Linked DNA regions of Homo sapiens: all the other regions are linked to region 1. The links are contacts of gene promoters, found by promoter capture Hi-C in human tissues and cell types (Jung and others, 2019). All regions are on one chromosome and are shown on one strand. The core of a region is centred on a gene start or on the middle of the fragment in contact, and the rest is flanking DNA. Distances in the headings are between cores, read along the strand shown.

What was found. The method cuts DNA at HindIII sites, captures the fragments that hold promoters and counts their contacts. A contact is called where the count stands out against the background at its distance.
Region 2: a fragment that was not itself captured here is called in contact with the fragment with the promoter of PCBP3 in region 1 in 1 of the 25 tissues and cell types used here (dorsolateral prefrontal cortex).
Region 3: a contact is called between a fragment that was not itself captured here and the fragment with the promoter of PCBP3 in region 1, in 1 of the 25 tissues and cell types used here (dorsolateral prefrontal cortex).
Region 4: a fragment that was not itself captured here is called in contact with the fragment with the promoter of PCBP3 in region 1 in 3 of the 25 tissues and cell types used here (H1 embryonic stem cells, IMR-90 fibroblasts and lymphoblastoid cells).

Annotation. Positions count from the first base shown.
Region 1 is chr21:45,642,072-45,645,471 of GRCh38, reverse strand. PCBP3 (poly(rC) binding protein 3) reads right to left here and starts at 1,747. Exons shown (of 18, transcript NM_001384156.1): 1 at 1,604-1,747. RefSeq lists silencers at 1,093-1,232, 1,553-2,542. The HindIII fragment of the contact is 13,348 bases long and covers 1-3,400 here.
Region 2 is chr21:46,101,530-46,104,929 of GRCh38, reverse strand. The region is part of intron 1 of COL6A2 (collagen type VI alpha 2 chain); the gene reads right to left. Among named protein-coding and RNA genes, the nearest start is that of COL6A2, 5.1 kb to the right of the region's middle. The HindIII fragment of the contact is 3,224 bases long and covers 276-3,400 here.
Region 3 is chr21:45,214,598-45,217,997 of GRCh38, reverse strand. All of the region lies in intron 9 of ADARB1 (adenosine deaminase RNA specific B1), which reads right to left. Among named protein-coding and RNA genes, the nearest start is that of LINC00334, 18 kb to the left of the region's middle. The HindIII fragment of the contact is 3,297 bases long and covers 79-3,375 here.
Region 4 is chr21:45,898,919-45,902,318 of GRCh38, reverse strand. It overlaps PCBP3 (poly(rC) binding protein 3), which reads right to left. Exons shown (of 18, transcript NM_001384156.1): 7 at 2,697-2,720; 8 at 1,696-1,728; 9 at 1,206-1,322. Among named protein-coding and RNA genes, the nearest start is that of PCBP3-AS1, 64 kb to the right of the region's middle. The HindIII fragment of the contact is 8,314 bases long and covers 1-3,400 here.

The DNA of each region.
Region 1 (3,400 bases), core at 498-2,997:
CCAAAAGCACCACTAATCAGCAGCACCTGGGGCAACGCCAGCCAAAAAGCCCTGAATTCTAGACAGAGTCCATTTTTTTCAGTTATAAAGACCCCATTTATCATCAAAACTTTTTCAAAACCTTATAATATTATCAACTAAGAAAATACGTGAAGCTACGTAAGTTCTAAACCATTCGTAATGAACTTGCACTGTATAAACAACAGCATCTACATACAAGCAAAAAAAAAAAATACTGCTCGAAAGTGAGACATCAGTTAGTCGGTCACTGCACTTGTTAGTTTTAAGGCCCCATGTTTTCTGACAGATCTCCAAGCCTGAAAACACCAGAACTATTTCTGCTTCTGTCGTGTGATGATCAATTAGGTCCTTTCAGATCTTGCAAATGATCCCTTTAGAGTGCCACTGTTCTACAAACACTCCTTTTGGGGCCAAAATAGGTATCTCTGACACGCTTTAAGATGATGAATTATTCTTGAATATGAGGAGGACTGGGAGTTAGTTCTCTTAAATAGGGAAGCACCCTTGCACACTCCTTTGGGATCCACATCTGAGAAAGTCCAAAGAAAAGAAAAAGGGCAACAGTTTGCCCCTGAAAGTGAGTTCAATTTCAGAGGGATATGTGAGGGCCTGTGCCAGAGGAATATTTTTGAAATGGGGGGAGTCTATAAGTTGCCCAGTCTAATCTCTAAAGGCCTCTCCGCAAGGCCCTGCTGCTCAAGATTCCTTCTGGCGAATCCCACTCTACAAACACTCAACAACTAAGAGTGCTACTGGCTCACATGGAGGGCTAACAAGACCTGCAAATCCAGGCTGCTCTGAAGGACGGTGGAAGATAACCAACCCCGAGCCACGAGATTTAGGACCCGACTTTTGGTTAACTTTCAAATTTCTTATGCCAGTAATATACTTCAGAGTGGCGCGGAGGGAATTGGAAAACATCACCAGGCAAAAAAAAGAAAAAAACTCTTTCACGAAACAAGACTTCCAATTAGAACACGTGTGGGGACAATAAGAAACACGTTCTAACCACCCCCAAAATTAAAATAAAACACAGCGAGCAACAAGAGAGACCTGCGCGCGCCCCACCGCCCGCGCGCGGCTCTCCGCAGGGTCACCGAGGGGTGAGGCCGCGCTCTCCCGGCGGCCGTCCAGGGGGAGGAGGCCCCGCGCCCCGCCCCGCCGCCCTCCAGCCGCCGCGGCCGCTCCGGGGTGTTCCCCAGATCTCTTCTCAATCAAGAGATGAAATTTGTGCCGTTTTGAAACTGAAGCCTCAAGTAGTCCAGACGTTTTCTGACCCACATCCGAGACGTTCTCGGCTTCCCGCCGCAACTTCCGAATTTGGGGAGGGGGCGGAGGCGGGCGGGCCAGGCCTGGCGACCGCACCTTGAGGGAGCGCGAGTCCCCTCGCTGCCCCGGGCCGCCGCAGGCGCCGGCGGCGGTCGGGGACGGCGCGACCCAGCCCGGGACCCCCGCCCGCCCCGGCTCGGGCGAAGTTTGCCGCGGCCCGGGGTCGCCCCGTCACTCGGCCTCCGTCGGGGACTGGGTCCCCGTAACCCGCAAGGGCGCCCGACCCCGACCCCGCCCGCCACCGCTCACTCACCTGCCCTGCGCCGGACGGCGAGCCCGCGGGCCGGCGGGGAGAGGCCGGGAGGCCCGGGCGGGGTCGGGGCGAGGCGGGTGAGGAGGCGGCGGCGGAGCCTAAGTCAGCCGAAGCGGCGGCGACCGCGGCTGAGGCGGCTGAGGCGGCGGTCGCGGCTTCAGGCGCTCCAGCCCGAGCGCTGCGCGCGGCGCGGGCCCGCCCCTCTGCGCCGCTAACCAATCTAGCGCCGCGCGCCGCCGCCGGCCCCGCCCCCGCCCAAGGGCAGGCTCGCGAAAGCGGGCGCCGCGGGCCAATGAAAGGGCGGAACATCAACCGGCGCGGCCAATCCGAGCCCGGAAAGTTCTCTGGAAAAAGCCAACTCCAGTCAAAGGGGCGGGGGTGGGGCTGGGGGCGGGGCGGGGACCTGGCCCAATGACGCGCGGGGCGGGGCCGAGCATTGGGCGGGGAGGAGGCGGGGCCTCGAACGGGCGGGCCGGTCACTAGTAGTGGGCGGGGTCGTAGGCGGGACATTGAGCGGGCGGGGCAAGAATCGGGGCGGGGGCCTAATGAAGTGAAGCGGGGAGGGGACGGGCAGTGGGAGGGGCAGGTCACATTTGGGGTGGGGTGGGGGCGGGGCAGGGGCGGGGCTGAGTACGGGAGGCCAGGCCGGGGAGAGGCCTAAGTCGGGGCGGGCGGGAGAAGGGCAAGAGCAGTGGGCGGGGCTCGGGGGTTAGGGGATTAGTGCCCTTGCTGGGGCGGGGCCCAGGCTTGGGGCGGGCCTGTGGTGGGCAGGGCCGTGGATGGGCGGGGCGAGCCTTCGTGGGCGGGCCAGGCCTGTGGTGGGCGGGGCGGGCCGTTGGTGAGCGAGACCTTGGTGGACGGGGCGGATCCGCGGTGGGCGGGGATTTGGCGGGCGGGCGGGTGGGCCCGACGGGACGGGAATGGCCGTTGAATTCCCAGCCGTGCCGCAACCCCGAAGGTCCCCCTGCAGCGCCCGCTTCCCGTTCTCTGTGGGCCTGGCCCCGGCCCGGAGGCTGGGGCCGCAGCGCCCGGCGGGCAGGGGCCCCGAGCGGCTCGTGAGCCTGTGCCCAGACGCTGCCCGCCCCGCGCTGGTCCCGCCGCCCTGTCCCCTCCGCCCGCCCGGCGTTCGCGTGCCGTGGCCTGGGGCGGGGCGTTGCTGGGCCCCGGGGGCTGCAGGGGGAGGCCGCCCTTTCTCTGGGCTGGCTCCGGGCTGTTCCGCTCCGCGCCGTTTTCCCGGTACTTCCCGCGGAGCCCGCCTCGCTGTGCGTCCCCGCCCGGGCGTTTCTTCCGCGGCGCTGAGCGCCCGCCCCGGCCTCGGGCAAGGGCAGCCGGACGCCCCGAGGACCAGGGCGCTGGGGCCGAGGCGCGTCCTCCGCAGTCGCCGCGCCTGGGCCCCGTTTCCCCGCGGGTCCTCGCCGGGGTGGGAGGCGCCTCTTGGCGTCCGTGGGGAGCTGGGTGTGGGGGGCGGCAGGGCAGGAGGTGGGGGGGCTGAGCCGGAGAAACGTCCTCGCCCCGCCCGAGACCTCAGACACCCCAGAACCTCGGGCCGGCAGCCAGCTGCAGGAATCGCGCCCTAAAGCCTGGGGTCCGCGCCCGCCCGCCTCCCGCGAGCGCCAGGGGCTGCCGGGTCACCGGGATGCAGCCTCGAGGCGACGTCACAGACCCCACGCGGCCCCCCGAGCACCCCCGGAGCCGGCGCGGGGACAGGGGTTCGGGATGGACGGAACCCACGCAGGGAACGTTCCGGGCCGTCTACGCCAGGCTCAGGGCGGCCGTCAGCTGGGGTTGGAGGTGGGT
Region 2 (3,400 bases), core at 638-3,137, 460 kb before region 1:
GCTGGATGTGGGCTTCTTGGTAGACAGTTTTTATTCTTTTAGCACTTTGGATATATTGGCCCACTGCCTTGTGGCCTTCAAAGTTTCTGATCAGAAATCTGCTAATAGTTTTATTGAGGATTCCTTACATGTGATGAATCATTCTTTCTTGCTGTTTTCAAAATCTTTGTCTTTGGGTTTTGACAATTTGATTAGAATGTTTCAGTGTGGGTCTCTTTGAGTTCATCCTGCTTGGAGCTTTTTGGGCTTCTTGGATGGTTATATTCATGTCATTCATCATATTTTAGAAGTTTTCAGCCATTATTTCTTCAAATAGTCTCTCTGCTCCCTTTGCTCTCTCTTCTTCTGGGGCTCCTACAATGTTTATGTTGGTTTGCTTGATGGTATCCCACAGACCCCTTAGGCTCTGATCACCTTTATTCAATCTTTTTATTTCTGCTCCTCAGACTCAATAATTTCCATTTTTGTATCTTCAAGTTCCCTGATTCTTTATTCTGCCTGCTGAAATCTGCCTTTGCATTTCTCTAGTGAATTTTAAATTTCAGTTATTGTACTTTTCAGCTCCAGAATTTCCCTTTGGTTTCTTTTTAAAATTTCTAGCTTTTTATTGATATTTTCATTTGTTCCTACATTTTCTTTCACTTTCTCCACATTTTCCCTTAGTTATTTGAGTATCTTTAAGATAGTTCTTTCAAAGCCTTTGTCTAGTAGATCTACCACCAAGTCTTTTTCAGTGACAGTTTCTGTTGTTTTTTTTTCCTTTGAAATAGGAAAGTTTCTTTGTATGCCTTGTGAAATCAAAATCTCTTTCTTCCCCAGAGTTTGCTGGTTTTTCTTGTTTTTATAATTTTGATTGTTGCTGTCTCTGTGCTAAGGATCAGCATAAAGTATAAACTTAAGGTCTTCTTAGGTCTTTTCTAAGCCCGTGACTTCCCCTGAGCATGTGCAATGACTTTTTTATTTTCTCCACATATATGGTTGCTTTTGAATGTGCTAGTCTTCAATGTCTACGTCTCAAAAGAGGAAAAAGAGAAAAATGAAGGGAGAAAAGGGTGCCAGCCCTTTAAATCTCCTGGAAGTCACTTCAACCAGACGGAGAAGGGCTTGCAATGACGGGGTTAGTTGCAACAACAAAGTCTGTGTCAATAGATTTTGAAAGATCTACATCATACAAGATATCTTTTCAGACCACAAAGGAGTAAAGTTAAAAATCAGCAACAAGGACATTTAAAAAATCACGAAATTAAACAACACCCTGTTAAATAACCAAGGATCAGAGAAGAAATCACAAGGGAAATTATAAAATACTTAGAGATGAGTGAAAATGAAAACACAAATTTAAAAACTTGTTCGACAGTGAAAGCAGTGCTAAGGGGGAAACTGATGGCTATACATGCTTATATTAAAAAAGACAGGTCTCAAATAGGAGCTTAACCTTACAATGTAAGGAACTAGAAAAAGAACAAGCTAGCAGAAAGAAGGAAAAAATAAAGATCAGAGCAAAGATAAACAAAATGGAGAACAGACAGATAATAGAGAAAATCAATGACAACAAAAGTTGGTTCTTTGAAAAGATAACAGAATTGACCAGCCTTAAGCTAGATTCTAGACTAAGAAAAAAAGAAGAAACTCAAATTACTAAAATTATAAGTGAAAGTGGCAACATTGCTACTAATTCTACAGAAATAAAAAAGATTATAAGAGTGTACTATAAGCAACTATATGTCAACAATTTGAATAACACAGATGGAATGGAAAAATTTCCAGACAGACAAAACCTATCAAGACAAAATCAAATCATGAAGAAATAGAAAATCTGAATAGACATAACTAGTAAGGAGATTGAATCAATACTCAAAAATCTCCTGACAAACAACCTCTGGACCTGATGGCTGCACTGGTGAATTCTACCAAACACATAAAGAACTAACACCAAACCCTCCCAAAATTTTCAAAAAACTTGAAGAGAAGGGAACACTATTTAACTCATTCTTATGAGGCCAGCATTACTCTGATACCAATACCAGACAAAGATATTGCAAGAAAAGAAAACTACAATCCAGTCTTCCTTATGAACATTGATGCAAAAATCCTAAACAAAATACTATTAATAGTAAACTAAATTTGGTATAATTTGATGCAATTAAATGGAATTTAATGAATTGACCAAGTAGGATTTATTTCTGGAGTGCAAGGATAGTTCAACATACAAAAAAAAAAAAATCAATCAATGTAATACACATTAACAGAATGAAGGAGGAAAAAAAACTCACACATGATCATTGCAGTTGATGCAGAGAAACCATATGACAAAATTCAATACCCTTTCATGATAAAAACACTCAACAAATTAGGAATAGAAGGAAACAACCTTAACATAATAAAAGCCATATTATACGAAAAAGCCACAGTGAACATCATACTCAGTGGTGAAAGACTGAAAGCTTTTCCTCTAAGGTCAGAAATAAAGGAAGGATGCCTGCTTTCACTACTTCTATTTAACACTGTACTGGAAGTTCTGGCCAGAGCAATTGGGCAAGAAAAAGAAATTAAAGGCATTCAAATTGGAAAGAAATAAGTAAATTATCTCTGATCACTGATGATATGATCTTGTATGTAGAAAACCCTAAAAATTCCACAAAAACTGTTACAACTAATAAACAAATTCAGCAAAATAGCAGAATACATAGTAAACACATAAAAATCACTTGTATTTCTATTCACTAACAATGAACAATCCAAAGGAAATTAAGAAAACAATTCTATTTACTATAGTATCAAAAATAATAAAATACTTAAAAATTGACTTAGGAGGTGAAAGACCTGTACAATGAGAACTACAAAACATTTCTGAAAGAAATTGAAGAGGACATTTAAAAAAAGACATTCATGTTCATAGATTGGAAGACTTACTATATTAAGATGTCAATACCACCCAAATTGATCTAGAGGTTTAATGTAATCCCTATAAAAATCCCAGTGATTGTTTTTTTTTTCAGAAATAGTGAATAAATCCTAAAATTTAGATGGAATCTCAAGGGACCTCGAATAGCCAAAAAAAAAAAAAAAAAAAAAAAAAAAATCGTGAAAGATAAGAACAAAGCTGGGGGACTCACATGTCCTAATTTCAAAACTTACTACAAAGCTGCAGTCATCAACAGTGTGGCACTGGCATAAAGACAGACATACAGACCAACAGAATAAAACAGAGAGTCCAGAAAGAAACCCTTGCATATATGACTTTCAATCAAGCCGTCAAGACCATTCGATAAAGACAGTCTTTTCAACAAACGGTGCAGAGACAACTAGATATCCACATGCAAAAGAATGAAGTTAGACCCTTACCTAATACCATATACAAAAATTAACTCAAAATGGATCTTTACGTTTTAAGACCTAA
Region 3 (3,400 bases), core at 478-2,977, 430 kb after region 1:
ACACTAGTATTAAGAGAAAATCTTAAGCAAACCCAGAGCAAAAAACACACAGAGGAATAAAGATAACAACACATTTCTTACTGGAAACAACGCAAACAACAAGTCAGGGAAGCAATGTCTTTAAAGTGCTTAAAGGAGAAAAAGGACCCTGCCATTCCAGCAGAAATATATTTGTACAGCAAAATATACTTCAAAATGAAAGCAAAATACTTTCCCAGACATACCAAAGCTGAAATAATTCATCATCAGAAGACTTGTGCTACAAGGAATGTAAAAGGAAGTCCTCCAGCCAGAAGAAAAAATGATACCAAAATGGAAATCCAGATCTATACAAAGAATGAAGAGCCCTGGAAATGATAGCTACATGGATAAATATACAAGAGGTTTTTTTCTTATTATTTAAATTCCTTTAAAAGATAATTATTAAGATGAAAATAATAAGATGTGGATTTTTTTAACACATGCAAAAGTGTCTGAAAACAATACCACAAAGGTTGGGAATGGAAAAACGAAAGTATCCTGTTGTAAGGTTCTTTTACTATATGTGAAGTAGTATAATATCACTTGAAGGGAGATCGTGGTAAGAATGCATACTATAAACCCTAAAAACCACCACCAAATTAACAAAAGTTACAGCTCAAAAGTCAAGAAGGAGTCAAAATGGAATCATCAAACACACCCAATTAAGGCAAAAGCAGTAAGAAAATGAGGAAAAAGTGAACAAAGAACATATGAAACACGTAGAAAATAAGTAGCAAGATGAAATTTAAACCTAATAATATCAATAATCACAATAAATGTAAATGGTCTAAGTACCTCAGTGAAAAGGCAGAGATTGTCCATGGTGGGAGAGAGAAGCAAGATCCAAACATATAAATATATATAAATATATGTCTATAAGAAACATATTTTTAAGATAAAGTACTTTAATATAAAGGGATAGAAGATACACTGTGCTAACACTAATCAAAAGAAAGTTGAGGAGGTTATATTAATCTCAAAACAAATTTCAGAACAAACACTATTACCAGAAATAAAGAGGGTCATCATATAATGGTAAAGGAGGTCGGTTTATTAAGATAAACCAACAATCCTACATTTTTATGCATCTAATCACAGAGCTACAAAATACAGGAAGTAAAAACTCTAAAAAAGGGGAAGAAATAGATAATGTACAATTATAACTAAGAGATTTTCAATCCTGCCTCTCAATAACTGATAGACCAAGTAGAAGATCGGTAAGAATATAAAAGAAAATAAATAGTATAATCAAACAACTTGGCCTAATCAACATTTACAGATCACTCTACCCCAAAGTGGCAGATTCACATTCTTTCAAGTTTTGTGGAACACTTATAAAGATAGATCATATTCTGGTCCATAAAACCAAGTCTAATAAATTTAAAAGGACTGAAGTCATTAAATGAAACTAAAAAACCAACAACAGAAAGATCTCTGTAAAATCCCTAGTATTTTGAAACTAAATAGCAGACTTCTAAATAACCCAAGGGACAAAGTATTTTAATATAAGTGAAAATGAAAACATATCATAATTTTTAAATGCTACAAAAGCAGTAAAAAGGGTCTTAAAACAATGACCTCAACTAGCACCTTAAAAAACTACAAAAAGATGGGCAATTGAAACACCAGGTAAGCGGAAAAAAAAGAAATAATTAAAATCAGAGTAAAAATTATTGAAATATAAAACAAAAGACAAAAATCACTGAACCTAAAAGTTGGCACTTAGAGACAAACAGAATTGAAAAACTTCCAGCTAGACTGATCAGAAAAAAACAACCAAGAGAAGATACAAATCATCAATATAAGGGATAAGACGATATCATTAGAGATATCACAGATATTAAAATGAATATTCTGAATGCTTTTATGCCAATATATTAGACAAATTAGATGAAATGGACAAATTCCCTGAAAGACAAATTACTGAAGCTTACTCAAGAAAAAAGATAAAAACAGATAACATGAATAGCCCTAAATCTATTATAGAAAAATAAATTGTAGTTAGAATTTTCTTACAAAGCAAACTTCAGGCCCAATGGTTTCACTGGTGAATTTAACCATATATTTAAAGAAATAATACCAAATCCAAACAAACTCTTCCAGAAAACTGAAGAGAAAGAAATGCACCCCAACTCATTTTATGCCTGACAAAGACATTAAACTAAAATGATAGCCCAATATCCCTACAGACAAATATAAATACAAAAATTCTAAATGAAATTTTAGCAAACTGAATCCAACAATATATAAAAAGAATAGCACATAATAACCATATAACGTTTATCCCAAGATGCAAAGTTGGTTTAATTTTTTTTTAACGTCACCACTAGCAAACTGAAAAATGAACTAAATGCTCATCTCATTTTTTGTTGTTGTTGTTTCAGATGGGGTCTCACTACATTGCCCAGGATGGCCTCAAACTCCAGGGCTCAAGTGATCCTCCTGCCTTAGTTCCCAAGTAGCTGGGACTATAGGCCTAAGTCACTGCAATGACAACAGTCATCTAAGAGCAGAAAAAAAGCATCAGACAAAATCCAGCATACATTCTTGATTAAAAACGCTGAGTAAGCTATAAATAGAAAAAAAAAATGTCTTGAGCTGATAAAGACATCTGTAAAAAACCTACAGCAGCCAGATATGGTGGATCATTCCTATAATCTCAGCACTTTGGGAGACTGAGGCAGGCGGGTTGCTTGAGGCCAGGAGTTCAAGACCAATCTGGGCAACATAGGAAGACATTGTCTCTATAAAAAATTTAAAAATGAACCAGGCATGGTGGCATGCACCTGTAGTCCCAGCTACTCAGGAGGCTGAGACAGGAGGATCACTTGGGCCCAGGAGTTTCAGGTTACAATGAGCTATGATCACGTTACTGCACTCCAGCCTGGGTGAAAGAGTGAGACCTTGTCTCTAAAACAAAAAACAGCAATAAAAAATCCTACAGCCAACATCATACCTAATGGTGAAAGACTGAATGTGTTCCCCCAAGATGACATGTAAGAGAAGGATGTCTGCTGTCATCACTTCTACTCAACATTGTACTGGAGGTCCTAACCAGTGCAATAAGGATGTAGAACTGATGAGTGGACTATAAAATTGCTATGGAAATACAAAAAGGACCTAAGCAGCCAAGACAACTTTGAAAAAGTACAAAGTTGGAAGACTAACTCTACCTGACCTCAAAACTTATAATAAAACTATAGTAATCATGACAATGTAATACTGGCCTTTAGACAAAGAGATTAAAGGCAAACAACAGAGTCCAGAAACAGACCCACATGTATATATACATGCCAGCTGATTTTTGACAAGGGCACAAGGCAATTCCATGAAGAAATGAGGAACCTTTCACTAAATGGTGCTAAATCAACTGGATATC
Region 4 (3,400 bases), core at 326-2,825, 260 kb before region 1:
TGCAGCGTCCAGCCTTGGAGGCCAGGCCACCTACGATAGGGGAACACTGGCCCCAGTGTCTGCAGTGTCCAGCCTTGGAGGCCAGGCCACAGGCTCTGCTGCAGTCGGCTCTGGGCAGTCAGCTTCCCTCATGTGCATCCCCAGTTCCAACTCAGGACCCACTGGAAAAGGCCTCGCACACTCCTCCAACCAGTCACATGGGATGCCCCACTTCTAGCCCTACTGCTGGCCCCAGGGCACATCTCTCCTCTTCTCTCCCACTCCCAAGCTCCCCCTCCTGCCTGCCTTTGAGTCTCTGCCAAGCACAGAAGATGGCGCCGACCCCCACCATGGCCAGCTTTGGATAATAAAGAGCCTCTGCCCATTCTCCCTTGGAGGGGTCTTTGTTTATTCCCACAAAGTGCACCTCATTACTTAATGGTCACTCCTCAAAGACACTAAATGCATCTCTAACTTCCAGCAATTTCAAGAAAATTAGAAACACATAAAGACATTAAAATTTCATTCAATGACAGAATACACAGAAGTGCTGCTCTCTCCCCCTCGCTCTCTCTCTGTCTCTGTCTCTCTCTCTTTCTGTCTCTCTCTCTCTCATCTCTCTCTCTCTGTCTTCCTCTCTCTCTCTCATCTCTCTGTCTCTCTCTGTCTTCCTCTCTCTCTCTGTCTCTCTCTCTGTCTCTGTCTCATATCCACTATCACGGATGGCCTCTACCTTTACCGTCCGTATCTCAGCAAGGCTACATCAGCTGTCACGGGGGCCCCAGAGGCATGGTGCTGTGTGGCTGAGGACCAGGGCTGTGCCAGCCAGGGCTTCATCGAGAGCCATGTGGCAGAGCTGGCTGGAGGCTGGAGGTGCTGGTGTGGCCCAAGGGTCAGCCAGGCTGCACGCCCCAGGGGAAGGGTGGGGTGTTCTGAGGCCGTGCTCGGTGCCCCAGGGCAGGGTCTGGGGAAGCTGAGGGAGGTGGACCTAAGGCATACAGCCGGGAGTAGCTGGCTTCAGAAGGATGGAGAGACACTGGCCCCTGACTGGGTGAACCAGAGCTGCGGAGAGGCCCTGGGAGGCAAAGGAGGTGAGCGTAGTTATGGGGTTGCCTGGGCGGGCTGGGGCATCCCCTAGTCCAGGTGTAGGGGAGAGGACCCAGGGAGCCAGCTGGGACCAGGCCTGCCCCCGCCAGGCTGGCAGAGGTGCCTGGGGTGCAGGTTACCTCCTCAAACTTGTATGCGATCATGGCAAAGGCCTTGAAGATGGCGTCTGTGGGGCCTGTGATGGTCACAATCCTCTCTGGGCAGTTTCCCTCTGAGATGTTGATCCTTGCACCACTCTAAGGTGAGAGCAGAGAAACCCCAGCGACCTGATTAAAACCCTTGGGCCAGTGGGTCGGGGGCCGCAAGTCCGTTGACAATTGACACAAACACATGCCTCTGTCCGCTGACGGAAACCATGAATGAACAGTAAAATGCTTCTCAACAATCTCCTTTACAATGAAATTTTAACTAGCAAAAGGAATCCAACAGATTCCTTCCCCACAGGGGAGCACAGGAGGCCTGAGTAGGGGAAAAGAGGCCCCGCACTGCACTCCCCACACACCCCGGCTGGCCAAGAGCACAGGCAGGACGTCGGCAGGGGCAGAGCCTGGGGACCCACCCCGCCCACCCGGGAATGGCTGCGGACAGGTGGGGACCCACCACACTCACCTCCTCACGCATCTTCTTCACAGTTTCTCCTTTCTGGAATAAAGATTTAGACAATAAGGAAAAGGTATCCCTCTGGCTCTGAGGACGGCGCGGCCCATGGTGGGTGGGGAGCAGCCTGGCCCATACGCCCACACAGCAGAGCCTCCTGCCTGTGCTGGAGGAGCAAACCAGCCTCTCCACTAAGAAGGCCAGGCTCCATGCCCACCACACCCTGGCAGACATTTCAGATGGGAAACTGAGGCCCAGGAATGCAAGTGCACCCACCTACAGGCACACAGCTGGCAAGGGTGGCGCAGGTCTGACCTGACTCCCCATGGCAGCTCACTCATGGCACATGGCAGTGTGCGTGCCCTCAGGCGCCCCGCATTGCCGGCTACACTCTGGCTCAGCCTCCCGGAGGTGGTGACTCTCAGAGACGCGCCCTCTCAAGCGTTTGGGAGGAAGCCGGGACAATGAGCTACTAGAGGCGCCCCCATGGTGGGACTGAGGGGAAGGACCCCCGGAAGCGGTGAAAATGTGATGAAGACAGGGAGGTGGCCCTCACTGCTCGGCCTCCCGGGGCAGCAGGCTTCCAAACTGGGCCTTACTTCCCCCGGGCCAGCCCTGATTTGGAAAGGAATTGTCTGGGGGCTGCTGCCTCCACTGGCACTCCTGGAGACCACCCAGACTACACAGCCGGCTGAAGAAGGCGTGAGAAATCATTCTTCGTGGGGTCTTCAACCGGGAAAGAAGGACTGGCCACCAAGGCCACGGGCAGGGGGCAGCGAGGTGACCAGCTGGAGTGAACCCCTTCCCCTCAGGCCACGCAGAGCCAGGGACCAGCTTCAATGTCATACAGCATAAAGGCGACACCTCTGGGGTCCTGTCTTCATGGAACACAGACCACCCACCAACTGGGAAAGGCGCACCTACTGGGTGCCACCTAGTACCCAGGGAGGCTGCCATCCTCACCATCCCCTTACAGAGACCCCAGGAGAGGCAGAGATTCAATCAATAATTACCTTCCCGATGATGCTTCCAACTTCCTGCAAGAAAAAAAAAATCACAGAAAGATGATGTCATAGAGCAGGAGGAGGAAAACACTGGAGGCAGACACTACCGAAACCTGCCTACCTTCCCGGTATGAGTGCAGAAGGGACCTTCCCGGTGTGCATGAAGAAGGGAGAATTCAGAATCTGCTGGTGGGGAGGGGTGTGTGTACAAGCCAGGCTGCCCATACAGAGGCCCTGAGCCGGGTCTTCCTTGGCGCCCACCTGACCAGGACAGAGATGGGCTGACTGTAAGTGCCCCGGGGGAGGGCAGCTGGCTGCCCCTGATAAATAACTCAGGGGGCATCACCCATGCACTCAGGCTACCAGGAAACTCTGGAAGAAATGTGTGAAAAATAAAGCCTCCTTCAATTGTGTGACTTAAAGAAAACTTAGCACTGCAATTGCTCCGTGACTCCTATTCCAACGGCAGCCTGTTAAAAGGAACGCTGGAAGATGCTGCCACAGTTCTGATGGCGAGCCCAAGGCAGTTTCGGGACACACGTTCCCCGCTGGGCTGAGTGGCCCAGTATCTCCCTGTCCAGCAGCGGGACAGAGCTGACAGGTGCTACTGTGGCCTGTCACCTGAAGCGGGGCCAGCAATGGTGACGTCGGTGAGGCTGTGAGGACGGCATGCAGAGGGGCCCGTGGAGGGAGAGGGAGGCCGTGAGGACGGC